2 separate regions of the Homo sapiens genome follow, and region 1 is linked to region 2. Evidence: promoter capture Hi-C in human tissues and cell types (Jung and others, 2019). All regions are on one chromosome and are shown on one strand. The core of a region is centred on a gene start or on the middle of the fragment in contact, and the rest is flanking DNA. Distances in the headings are between cores, read along the strand shown. Region 1 overlaps HECTD2 (HECT domain E3 ubiquitin protein ligase 2). Region 2 holds the start of FGFBP3 (fibroblast growth factor binding protein 3).

What was found. The method cuts DNA at HindIII sites, captures the fragments that hold promoters and counts their contacts. A contact is called where the count stands out against the background at its distance.
Region 1: a fragment that was not itself captured here is called in contact with the fragment with the promoter of FGFBP3 in region 2 in 1 of the 25 tissues and cell types used here (dorsolateral prefrontal cortex).

Annotation. Positions count from the first base shown.
Region 1 is chr10:91,482,790-91,489,542 of GRCh38, forward strand. HECTD2 (HECT domain E3 ubiquitin protein ligase 2) reads left to right here. Exons shown (of 21, transcript NM_182765.6): 8 at 178-287; 9 at 1,718-1,866; 10 at 2,391-2,514; 11 at 4,893-4,989. All of the region lies in intron 3 of HECTD2-AS1 (HECTD2 antisense RNA 1), which reads right to left. Among named protein-coding and RNA genes, the nearest start is that of HECTD2, 76 kb to the left of the region's middle. The HindIII fragment of the contact is 3,296 bases long and covers 609-3,904 here.
Region 2 is chr10:91,908,132-91,915,086 of GRCh38, forward strand. It overlaps FGFBP3 (fibroblast growth factor binding protein 3), which reads right to left and starts at 1,355. Exons shown (of 2, transcript NM_152429.5): 1 at 1,267-1,355; 2 at 1-916. The coding sequence starts at 838. The coding sequence ends at 62. It overlaps FGFBP3-AS1 (FGFBP3 antisense RNA 1), which reads left to right. Exons shown (of 2, transcript NR_199602.1): 1 at 1-118; 2 at 766-1,217. RefSeq lists a silencer at 228-797 and an enhancer at 701-995. The HindIII fragment of the contact is 15,807 bases long and covers 1-6,226 here.

The sequences.
Region 1 (6,753 bases), core at 1,007-3,506, 420 kb before region 2:
CACTGTATAGCCGCAGTGTAAATGAAAGTCTCTGTTAATTAAATAACAAATAGGTTATTGTTATTTTATAATCTCAAATTTTGTTTCCTGAATTTACCACGTACTTATTAAGCTTAGTGTCTTTCCTTTTACGTGTTAACAGAATTTTAACACAATTATCTTTAATATCTTTTTCAGAATCCTCAGTTTAATAACACATCTACGTATGTCATCTATGCTCACTTGCTACGACAGATAGCTACCTTAGTGGAAGCTGACCATCATTTCCTAGTTCACTGGTTTAAAAAGTAAATCATTCTATGATATTAAGAACTTTTATAGTCTCACAGTTTTAAGTTTGGTATTAGTAATTTTACAATAAAATATATTTAAATATTTTCAGGTCTTTAGAAATGATGCTTATATTCACAATGCTTCAAAAGCCAGTTACAAAAATCTACTTTAGTACTACATAAAGGATAATTAAAAATCTGTTTTTAATGTAAGTAACCAATTTGTTTGCACAAGCTGTTGAGAATTTCTGTCTACTGCCTTCACTTTTTATATAGCACATTCCTATTATTGGTTTTTTACGTATCTCAAAGATGGTGACTGGATTTGCTCAGACACTACTATTTTAATGTGTGTCTTTTTATTTTCTATCTGTAAATTCATAAATTTCACCATTATTTAAATGGCGCTTTCTCCTTACCTAAAAATGTCATTGTAAAATATAGGCTAGCCATCAATATCAATTTGTAAAAGCATAATACTTTTTTCACAGAACTATACCCACATGAACAATGACTTCTCCATGACTGATAAAAGTAGAAAGGCAAAATATTTCCAAAAGAAATTTTAAATGCAGTAAATTATCATTATTCATAGTAGTTATATTCTATAATGTCACCACAAACATGGAATTAATAAATACAGAACCATTGCTTCAAGGGGAAATACAGGGTTAGGTTCCTGTGAGCCTCTGATCACATTTTTGTCAGCCAATCAGTATATAACTTTGCTTTATGAGTGTTTTTTTTAAAGACACACTTCATTTAATAGAAGTCATTGATTCATTATCATTGAACTCACGGCTAGCAGCACTGTAACTCATGCCTGAATGAAGCTTCTCTAACATACATATTTTCTCTGTAGGGCACATCACAACCTTCTTGTTAGGAACACTAGACAGCATTTTAGCACTACACTTGGCCATTTTGAAATTGCAAAATCACCAACAAAAAGCACCAAAATGTGAAAAACATGAAGCTAAATGGATTGCATAAAGGACACTTGCAAAGAGAGAGTATTGAGCTAAAACAAGGCAGAACATCACTTTGACCTCAGCTGGAAATGTGCATGTCAGGAGACTAACATCTTTCACATGTCCCCAAATGACCATGAAAACACAAGTATTGATTTGGGGATTAACAATTAAATTTTACCAAGTAGGCAAATTTGGAAATATAGAATCTGTGAATAATGAAGACTGAATATTGAAAGTCTTTAAAATGTTTGTTACTAACTTTATAGTAATTTTGGTGTTTATTTCTCATTTAACGAAGACAGTATTCAAGGTAAGATTTTGTATCTTTTCAAATGTTTGGCAATTTAAGAAATAGAATTTGGGGGAATAGTCTAAAATTTTGTGGCTTAGGATGTAGTTTAATATCTAACAGATAATTTTGGAAATAGAAAATGTGAATTTTGATTGCAATTATTTTGAAATCTTTACCAGATTGTCCCAGAAGAGGTTCAAACAATTGGTAGAGAGATTGCTGCAATTTATTTCTTTACGCCTGTTTCCTGCAAAGCCTGAAGAATTTCCACCTATAACAAAGTGTTCCTGGTGGATTCCATCAGCCGCTAAAGTGTTGGCTTTACTTAGTAGGTTTTTATTATTCTATCATTTTTTACTTTTCTTTTGTTACATTTTAGGGATATTTCTTAAGGATTTCAAAAGACTATAGAGGCATTCTTAAATTTTAAACCATTTCTGTGAAGGAAAGAGTTGTAATTTATTTTCTACTTTGATAATAGATTTCATAATTTATAAGCATGAAAAAAGCTTTATGTCTTTTAGTGGACAGTGTTCTGTATTATGGCAATTAAGTGCATATGAGCTAGGACCCCTAAGAGAGAACACACAGAAATAGGAGTAAATGGCCATCTGCATATTCCCTTTAATACTATTATAATCCTCACCACAAGTTTTCTTTTTTAAGCAAGAAACTATTGGCTGCATTTTAACCACAATTTTTAAATTACCCCTTTCATTTGGAGCTACATTTATTTAAAATAGGAGTTTCTAGGTCAAGGCTGTCTTGTAGACATTAAAATGATGTTTTTATTATTAGAATGAATCTTGTACATGTTGGAAAAAGTCTTTATGTTAGAATTTATCTTTACAGATACTGCAAACAATTTAGTTCACCCTCCCCTTATTCCTTATACTGATTTCTATAATTCTACATTGGATCACATTGATCTCATGGAAGAATATCATACTTGGCAAAACTTTGGAAACTCTCACAGGTATGAACAAAAGTTCCTTTGATTATCCACCTAAATGAAATACTATTCAAAAGAATGACTAGAGTTTAAGTTTATATGAAGTTTACACATACGTTTACATATAAATGTATAAATATAGTTCAGATAGCCTTGAAATATCATATTTATTAAAGTATTTTCTTTTTCTGCTACATTTTGAATTTATGTACATGTTAATTTGGTTTTGGTTTGGTTAATAGCATCTTTTCAAGAAGGGAGAGGTTCTATCTTAATATGCAGTCTCTTATCTCTTACTATTCTATGCACAGGGGTCAGCAAAACTTTTTCTGTAAAGAACTAGATGGTGAATATTTTCAACACTATAGGTTACACAGGTTCTATTTTGCTATTTTAGCACAAAAGTAGCCTTAGACAGGATGTAAATGAATAGATATGTCTGTGTCCCAAATGACTTTATTTACAAAAACAGGTTGTAGGCCATATTTGTCTTAGGCCCATGGTTTGCAGATGCATGATCTAATATATTGATCACACACAGACACACACATACATTCATTTCTCATTTCTTTTGTAAGAAAAAGTGGTTGTCCATTAGGTGCAATATAAAAAGAGTAGATGTTACAGAGAAAGGGCCTTACCACAGCTTATTTATTATAATAATTAATAGATTTGTAAAACAGTCACCAAATTATTTAATACACTGCACTTTATATCCACACTTCTAGTTTGGATTAAACTAGCAAGACTATTCCAAACATAATTTATCCTCAGGTCATGAGATGTTCAGGAGATTGCATTTAATTGTAGAGGAATCTGAGTAAAGAGATACAGTGTGGATATAAGTAACCTCAAAACCCCAGATTAGTTTGTAAATTGGTTAAACTTTCCAGGGACCCTCTTTATCAGAATTGGCCTGAAACATAGAATGGGCTTCTGGACACATCTCATTTCACATCTGAACACTCAGAACTGAATAAGAATAAGAATTTAAGTTCTGGGCACCCTAGTCCCAGATGGATATTTTCTTGGCAATGTTTACTTTACAAAGATACTTTTTCCTTCCATTTTAATATAATTGTAATGTGTTGTAGATACAACCACAAAACAGCGCCAAGAATTATTATGCATATTTCACTGACAACAACATCTTTTAATATAGAGCTTCCTCTAACAACTGTGCCACAACACTGGTGTACCAAGAATGAGTTACATTAGGGTTTTAATCCTAGGATCCTGTCAACCCTTGGGTAGCCAGCCTGAACCTAGAGGGGAACAGGAGCCCTATGGCAAGTGATCTCTGGCCATGAGCAGCTTCATCTGTTCATTTCAGTGTATCATTCACAAAGTATCATTTCTCTTGTGCATAACAAGGGAAAGGTTGAGAACCCCTGTCCTAAAGTACATAGTAAAACTAATATATATCTTACTGAGTTCATTGCATTTTCTTTTTATTTCCAATTTTTTGTTAGCATTAATGATTCAAAATAATTATATACCAGTACTGAAGAACTCTCAACTTTTATTAACAATTTTGTCCCATGGTAAAAGCCATCTCACTTTCAGTTTACACTAAGGCTATATCCATTTTCCTAATAATGCCTTTTTTCTCAGTGGTCACAGTTGTACCACCTGACTATGCTCAGAGGGATTCCAGCTGTAACTGATAGATTCACTGTAGTCACTTTGAATGGCAATCTAACTCCAGAAGTGTCATTGCTGCCATATTCATTCTTTCTAAATGCATTTATCTCTGTGTAGTTTGTGGCTTTTGTGCATAGCATAGAATGTTCTAGCCCAGGAGGGGTTATTTTCATAACCTTTTTATAATGTGTAATTACAAATACATACCATTTCCTATTACCACACCATTAAATATAATACTAAATGTAACATACATTTCTGATTTATTTTTATTGGTCTTAAATATATTACTTTACTTTTTACATACTGTAGTTATTGTTAGATTTTTTCATTTCTGGAACTCACACATCAGAAGTCACCATATAATGATGGATTCTTATATTAATTTTGAGCACCTGGGTTTTCTGTACTACTTAACCAACACTTCTCCCTCCTGGTTCTGGTATTGGCCATGTTGTTCACAGGTGATGATATACAATGAAATTATTTGTATAGACAATGTAAGTGGTTAGCACACATTCAGAACCTTTGATGTAGCTTCTGCAGAGAATAAAGGCATTGCACATCTAGTAATGATACATTCTTCACATGGCTGTGAGAATTAAAAGAAATTATACACATACAATCATTTTGTATATGGTAAAACACAATCCAAAAGTAATGTTTTATATTGCTACAAGGGGTACCTTAGATTCCCTTAGTATAATTTTGTTAAAAATACACCATTTTGCTTTTTCTTTTTTTCACTTGTTGAGCAGGTTTTCCTTCTGTCAGTACCCATTCGTTATTTCTGTAGCTGCAAAAAAAATCATTATTCAGAGAGACTCAGAGCAACAGATGATAAACATCGCAAGGGTAAGTCAGCTATAAAAACATATTTATGCTGACTATAATCAGTATAGTAAATAATTTAATAAATAATTTAAATGTCTTGTGAATTGTTCTAGCATAATCAGGAATGTTAAAAGCAAAATTCGTGTTATACTCACCCAAAAAGTGCTTAAAAACTATTTACAATTTGGGAGACAAGATAACTCTCATCTCTTCTGATCAACTTCTCATTATATTATAAATATAGTAGGAAGAGTAAATGCTTCTCACAGATTCAAATTACTGAGAGCTTGTTGGACCTCGTTTTGCAGATACCATACCACCAACCTTAGATAACCAGCAGAGCATTGAGAACTGCGGTGAGGCAGAGTGTCATTAGGCAAACCACTCAAACTACTGAAACATTTTCTAGGTTTTATGAAAATCAGAAACAACCGAAAAATTAGAAAATGTAACAAAAAGTGTGTCTTGGAGAACTGAGAAATATGCCCAAAGAAGGTGAAAGATGTTTTATTGGTTCTTAGGAAACCAAAATGCATGGAGACCCAAAGAGGCTGGGGATAGCAAGCAGACTGAGTTTAGGCAAATTGTAGAGCAGTATGAAGTTATCTCTCAGTCTGTCCTTACCACTTCCTATCCCTTGTGTTTCAGCTCAGCACAGTAATGTACTTTATCTAATAAATATCAGATTCAGTGAGGTTTTTCTGTTAGAGCTCTAAACTATTTGTTTAAGTGCTTATGTATTTCAAACATCTGCTTGTGTTACATGATTGCTCACAATTTTAAAAGAGGGAAGCTTGGCTGTGGTCTTCTTAATTGAAAAAGGAATATAGAGTAAAAAGAAATGATTTCCATCTTGTTCAAGAGTATAAAAAGAATCCTAAAGCATAAATTGTAATACTTCAAAATGCTATAAAAAATAAGAATGTTTATTCTTCAGTAATTCAGTTCCCAGAAGGTGAGTATTTCTTTCTATCACAGAGAAGGACAAAAGATTTGAGTAACTGGTGACATCCCAAAGTCATCTTATACTGAATATGGGAATATTAGAAGAAATTTTATTGCCTATGCCCATCAAGGGAATTCCAAAGCCACACTACCCCCCTGAAGAATGAGTTTAAACAGGTATATTCAGCACCAGAATTGTTACTTGATCTTGGGTAGATATTGGCTCAATGATTAGCTGTATAGCTACTCATTCTGACATTTTCTGTTAGTTGTACTCGTACAATGTCATGTGCCTTTTTAGTATTTTTTCACCTTGGTCTATGATTTTTTTATATTTGTAAGAAAATCTACAGTGCTTTTGTACGTAACAGAATGAGCTAGTTTGTGTTAAACTAGCAAGACTAAACAGTTTTTTCTGTGTCACTCACAGGATATCAAATATCTTTTTGTGGAATTTTTCTTCTACTTTAAAGAAGGAGAATGGCAGGTGTAGACTCTGTGACAGGCTAAGTTTTCTACAGAGCATGCAAACGAATGAGTAGACACTTGACATTGAGAGCTAAGTGGCATTATCAGTTTTTTATGGGTGTTTCCCAACATTTTATCTCATAAATTGCCATATCACTTGGAATTAATGACTGATGACTATTTTGACACAAGGACAATCTTACAAATAGTCAGTGTAAGCAAGAGCTTATATGGTACAATCTAAATATACAAAATTGGTTTCCTAACCTAAAATAAGTTCCTCAGTCACAGTGTCAAGAATTGTATCATTGTTGGGTTATTTTTTCATTTGGAGCATTTTCCAGTAAATATGAATTCCTGATGGGAGGAGTA
Region 2 (6,955 bases), core at 105-2,604:
GCCCTTAGCTTTCCCTTCCCCACGCCTCCCCCATCAACCCTCCCTAAGCCGGCAGGCAGTCTCAGCCGTTCCAGAAATTGACAAAGAAGTTGCAGAGGGAGTGCCACTTCTCAGCGCAGTAGGTCTCCGTGAGCTCCGCGTTCCCGTCCAGCCCGTCGGGGTCGGGCCCGGTCCCCATGGGTCGCTCCTCGTTGGGGACCAAGGCCGCCTTCCTCTTGCCCTCGTTGGTCTTCCTCTCTGAGGGGTTTTCTTTGGGCGGTGCGCTTTGGGGAGGCGGGGTCCCAGCGGCTGGGCCGGACGCACGCTCCCGGGTCCGCCCCCGGTTCCGGGCCCGGGGCTTGGACTCCCCCGCGAATCCCGCGACGGTGGGGCGTGCGGGCGGGGACGCGCGGGGCACTAGCCGCAGCTCGGCGCCGTGGCCCTTCTTGCCCGCGCACAAGCGGGCCTGGAGCGGCGCGGGGTCGTGACAGGGCCTCCGCTTCTTGCGCAGCCCTCCCAGCACCTGCTTCCAGAAGTGCGCGCGGCGAGCGGCGTAGGCTGCGCAGCGCTCCGGATGCCCGCGGTAGGCGCACTGGTGGCGCGCCCCGTCCGGGCTCTGGCAGCGCAGCGCCAGCTCGCTGCCCGCTGCGGCCTCCGGGGCGGGCAGCAGGAGCTGCCAGCTGCACGCGTGCTGCTCGGGGCTGAGGAAGCGACCCGAGGAGCCGCCAGTGGGCCCGGGGACCGGCTCCGCCACGTTGCTAGCCGCCCCTTTCTCCCTCCGAGCAGCCGCGAGGAGGCAACCACTCAGCAGCAGCAGCAGCGACGGCGACAGCGACGCTCGCAGCTTCGGAGGAGTCATGCTCCGCGGTTTCCGCGCTCCGCTGTTCTCAGACCACGTTTGTCGGGGCTGGACCAGGCAAAGAGCATTCCCCAGGACCTGCGGACAGAGGCAGAGACTGCCACCAACTGAGCCACACGCAGCGCTTCGCCCAGACACATGCACCTGCGAACTACTCTTCCGCAGACTTTCTAGAATCTGCAGCCTGCGAGGAGACCCTCTGAGGAGCTTTCCTGGGGAAACTGCTTACTGTCTAAATAATCACTTTCGAACCATGTATGCATTGAGATTTTCTTCCCCTTGCAAATACGATAGCAAAACGATGCGTGATAATTGCCCCCTCTACCCCTTCCTTCATTTTCTCCCTTCTCCAACCTGCAATAAACTATCTACAAAATCATTTCAGATGATTCCTTGGAAACATGCACTTTACTACACTTTGAACTTACCGAGTTCTGGGAGAGGCGCCAAAGCCTTATTAGGGTAGAGGGAACGACTGCACGGGGGAGTAGTCTGTTTTAGCCGGCTCCCTGTGAATGAACGTGGTATCAATGGAACAGAAGAGGCCTACCCTTCTTCGCCCCTCCCCGATTTCTCTCACACTGGGAGACTTATCACCGCCGCGCTTCTCTCTCTCTCTCCCTCTCTCTCTCTGTCTCTCCAGATGGATGATGGAAGCGGTCCTGTAGTATGAAATACAAATCTTGTATTTTGCTTCCAATGTTTAAAATAATCAGGCAAAATTAACCAAGTTTTTCTTCTTTCATGTACTTAACCATCCAAAAAATAAAAATTAAACAAAAGATCTAAGTTTTAAAAGTTAAATAAAATGAAACAAAACAAACTTCAGTATTCTAAACTAGGCATTTTTTACACAATTATATCATTTACATTCTATTTCTCATATTCTGAGTTCTACATTTTTACCTATTATTTCCAATAGCCTTTCTTAAGACTCTCAATCTTAATAATTGTTACTACTAATAAAAATATAATATCCTAGTTTATTAACATACAATAGTGCCCAGCAGTTCACCCAGGAGTGGACATTTGGGCTTTTTATTATTTTTAGGTATTAGAAATCAGTTATAAGGGTCCTCCAAAAATTAGAAGTTTAAAAAAATTATTTGTATTATAGTAGTTGAACGGTAAGATTACCAATTGAAATGGTATAATAGTTAAGAATGTGAGACCAGCCTGGCCTGGTGAAATCCCGTCTCTACTAAAAATACAAAAATTAGCCAGGCGTGGTGGCAGATGCCTGTAATCCCAGCTACTCAGGAGGCTGAGGCAGGAGAATCACTTGAACCCGGGACAGGGCGAGACTGCCTCTCAAAAAAAAAAAAAAAGAGAGAGAGAATGAATGTGTTCTTGAATCTTGAAAATGTTACATTTAAGCAAAGCTGCTTTTTCTGGAGGGGGGGATTGTGTGTGTGTGCGGGGGTTTGTTTGTTTGTTTGTTTGTTTGTTTGTTTTGAGACGGGAGCTCACTCTGTCACCCAGGCTGGAGCGCAGTGGTGCTATCTCGGCTCACTGCAACCTCTGCCTTCCCGGTTCAAGCGATTCACCTGCCTCAGCCTCCCCAGTAGCTGGAATTACAGGTGCCTGCCACAACACCCAGCTAATTTTTAGTGGAGAAGGGGTTTCACCATGTTGCCCAGTCTGGTATCGAACTCCTGACCTGAGATGAGCCACCTGCCTCAGCCTCTCAAAGTGCTGACCAAGCAAAGCTGTTTTTTCTTTCTTTTTTTTTTTTTTTGCTCTTTTTAAAATTTTTATTTAGAAGCCTACTTGTAGAAGTTAGCATAATTTTACAGATTATTAGAAAAATTCAATTATTTTCTCTCTGCAAACAGTTATAATAGGTTAGGAATAATAGATTAGAAATGTACTACATTGCAAAAACAGTGGCCTATAACTATCTGTACATTTACTGTGCACCTTAAGGAAAAGAATTTGACAGTGTGCTATACTTACACTGCAGGTAACATATTTTTATTCTATCACACAAAACTGACCAGTGGTAGTGCTTGAATTTATAAATGGCCATTAAACAGAATATTTAAACTGAGATGTATATTTAGCATGCTAAAAAGTGAAAAAAATTTCAACTGAAGTTCTGTGGCTCATCAGTTCAAATGTTTCATGGCATTTTTTTCTTTAAACGAAAAATTTTGATATTGTAAAACAAATAATTTTACATAATAAATGCAAAAGTATAAAATTTTCTAAATTTTTAGAAAGAATATTTCCATTCATTTTGTCATGGGTTTTGTGTGGCTCCTCTTAATATATTAATGATATTAATAAGACACTGGTCCTATACCACTTTCAGAGTCCATCTTCAATTAAAAACTGTAACAAAAATAAACAGTATGTAGAGTAACACAAAGTAAATTAAATATACTAAACTCACACAACAGGTAGAATAAAATGAAACCAAATTACATAATGGCAGGTTATACATTTTAAAGACTCTCTTTCCACTTAGTCAAATAAGAAAGACATTGAAATGTTAACTTACTGATTTCTGTGGGGTTTTCCCCACTGGTTCAAATGCGAAAGTTTGATATAAATCTAATATTTTATTTCTGTACATTTAACATGATTCAGTATAATCTGCAGTCTCATGTATAGCTTGTCAATAATGCCATCATCACTGTATGTCAAACAAAAAACCTCACTGCTTACTAGAAATGCTAAACACTGGAAAAAATGGAATTTTATACATTTGTTTTCTTAAATTTTGACAGATGTTCTTCAAAAAATTAAAACTGCCTTCCACAAAATTTTGTGTGTATATGGCACAAGTTGACAGCCAAAAAGTGTGAATTCCATCAAAAAGGCACTGTTAACAATACTCAGAATAATCTGACAAGGTCTACATCAATGTCTGAGTAAAGAATAGGTAAATAGACAAACCCTTATAAAAGACAGCATTATTGTTTAAATATACTATAGCTATATAAAAAGAAATAAAGTGACACACAGAAATGACCCTTAGCAAAGCTGTTTTAAAACTTCAGAATATTCCATCATCTTTTAAAAATGTTCTCATTAATAAATGTGATTTTTTTTAATTGCAGAAGTTTATACCTCTGACTGTAATTTTTTTACACAAGTAAATATTTTACTTAAATACTTCCTCAAGATATCAGGAATTCTTATTATATTTCCTAATGTCCTCTTGCATATAGCATTTTCTATTACTGAACTCCTGTTAGTATTATATTTGAACAATTATAGTTTGGTTACTACTATAAAAACCAAAATACTTTAGAATTAGAAGAATATGTTTAAATATATAGTAGTATATATTAAATATATAGCAATGTATATTGACTTCAGAAAGGAAGTTTTTAACACTCTGGTAAAATCAGAGAAACTAGATAACTTGTCCAGGTTCACACATCATTTAGTGATAAAACCACTTACATCTTTCAGTGATCAGTGATCTTTATGTTTTGTCTTTGTATTTTACTATTAGTTATGTTTTAATTATACCAATTCAGGCTGGGCATGGTGGCTCACATCTGTAATCCCAGCACTTTGGGAAGCCAAGGCGGGTGGATCACCTGAGGTCAGGAGTTCGAGACCAGCCTGGCCAACATGGCAAAACCCCATCTCTACTAAAAATACAAAAAGTAGCTGGGCATGGTAGTGCACGCCTGTAATCCCAGCTACTCGGGAGGCTGAGGCAGGAGAATCACTTGAATCCGGGAGGCAGAGATTGCAGTGAGCCGAGGTCACACCACTGCACTCCAGCCTGGGCAACAGAGCAAGACTCTTTCTCAAAAAAACAAAAAACATAAAAATAAAAAAAAAAATTACACCAATTCAACTTATAATGAAAACCAATTTGTACCTATGAAGATTAGAAACATTAACAAGTTTCAAAAATAAGAGTAGCTAATTAATACATTTCACACTTGGAAGCCCTTTCTTTCCCAGAAAACTGTCTTTGTATATGTGAAGCATGGATGAGTAATCCCAGGCTTTTGTCTGTTGCCTTGGCATTACTTTTTGTTAACAACTACTGAACCGAATTGGTACCATTTTTAATGAAAGAATGACATCTTGTGGCATAATGCTCTAATTGCAATAAAAAAATTTATTATCTGAAAGCTGTAATTAAGAGATACTCCAGAGACCATGCTTCGCTGTCACAAACACTGTTCCCAGAGTAAAAAGTAAGGGCACATAGACATATTATGCAATATCAGAAAAGGGGAGTTATTTTTTAAAAAACTGTGGCATAATATGCATAACATAAAATTTGTTGTTTTAACTATTTTTAGGTGTACTCTTCAGTGACATTAAAAAGATTCACACTGTTCTGCAACCATTATAGCTATCCATCTCCAGAACTTTCTTTCGTCCTCCAAAACTGAAACTCTGTACCCATTCCTCCCTTCCCCCAGCCCCTGGCAACCATCATTCTACTTTCTGTCTCTGTGAATTTGACCACTCTAGATATCTTATGGTAAGTGTAATCCTACAGTATTTGTCCTTTGTGATTGGCTTATTTCACTTAACACAATGTCTTCAAGGTTTATCTGTGTTATAGCATGTATCTGAATTTATTTCATTTTTAAGTCTGAATAATATTCCATTGTATGTATATACCACATTTTGTTTACCCATTTAGGTTGTTTCCATACCTTGGCTATTGTAAATAATGCTGCAATTAACATGAAAGTGCAGATATCTTTATGAGGTGATCATTTCATTTTCTTTGGATATATGCCCAGAAGAGGAATTGCTGGGTCACATAGTAGTTGATTTTTAATTTCTTTACAAATCTCCATACTGTTTTCCATAATGGCTGTACCAATCTACATTCTCACCAAGAGTGTACAACCTTTTCCCCACATCCTTGCCAACATTTATCTTTTGACTTTTTGGTAATAGCCATCCTAACGGGTGTGAGGTAGTATCTCATAGTGGTTTTGATTTACAATTCCCTGATGATTAATGGTGTTGAGCACCCTTTCATATACCTGTTGGTGATTTTCATGTTTTCTTTGGAAAAATGTGTATTCAGGTCTTTTTGCCCATTTTTAAATCAGGTTATTTGTTTTTCTACCATTGAGTTGTATGAGTGCTTTATAAATTTTGGACAGTAACCCCTTATTTGATATATGGTTCACAGATATTTTTTCCCAATCTGTAGCTGCCACTTATTTGTTGATTGTTTCCTTGGCTGTGCAGAAGCTTTTTAGTTTCATGTAGTACCATTTATTTATTGTCGCTTTTGTGGCTTGAGCTTTTGGTGTGATGTCCAAAACTCATTGCCAAGGTCCATATCCAGGGGATTTTCCCCTATGTTCTCTTCTGGGAGTTTGATAGTTCCTGGTCTTACAATTAGGTTCTTTATCCATTTTGAGTTGATGTTTTTGTATAGTGTAAGATAATGATCAAATTTCATTCTTTTGCATACGGAAATCCAGTTTTCCCAGCACTATTGAGACTACCCTTATCCCATTGTGTCTCTTATCAAAAATTAGTTGACCATATATGTTTGAATTTATTTCTTCTCTATTCTGTTCCATTGTTCTATGTGTCCGTTTTTATGCCAGTACCATTACTGTTTTGATTACTAAAGCTTTATAATATAATTTTTTTTGAGACAGGGTCTCGCTCTGTTGCCCAGGCTGGAAGGCAGTGGCATGATCATGGCTCACTGCAGCCTCAAACTCTAGGCTCAAGCAATCCTCCCACATCAGCCTCCTGAGTAGCTGGGACTACAGACATGTGCCACCAGACCTGGATAATTTTTTCTACTTTTCATAGAGACACAGTGTCACTATGTTGCCCAGGCTTGTCTCAAATTCCTGGGCTAAAGCAATCCTCCTGCCTCAGCCTCCAAAAGTGCTGGGATTATAGGCTTCAATATAATTTAAAATCAGGAAGTGTAATGCCTCCAACTTTGTTTTACTTTCTCAGAATTGTTTTGGTAATTCATGGTCTTTTATGTTTCCATACAAATTTTAGGATTGCTTTTTCCATTTCTGTGAAGAATGGCACTGGGATTTTTGTAGGGATTGTGTTGAATCTGCATACTGCTTTGGGTAGTATGGATATTTTAACAATATTAATGTTTCTAATACATGAGCATGGGGTAGCTTTCCATTTATT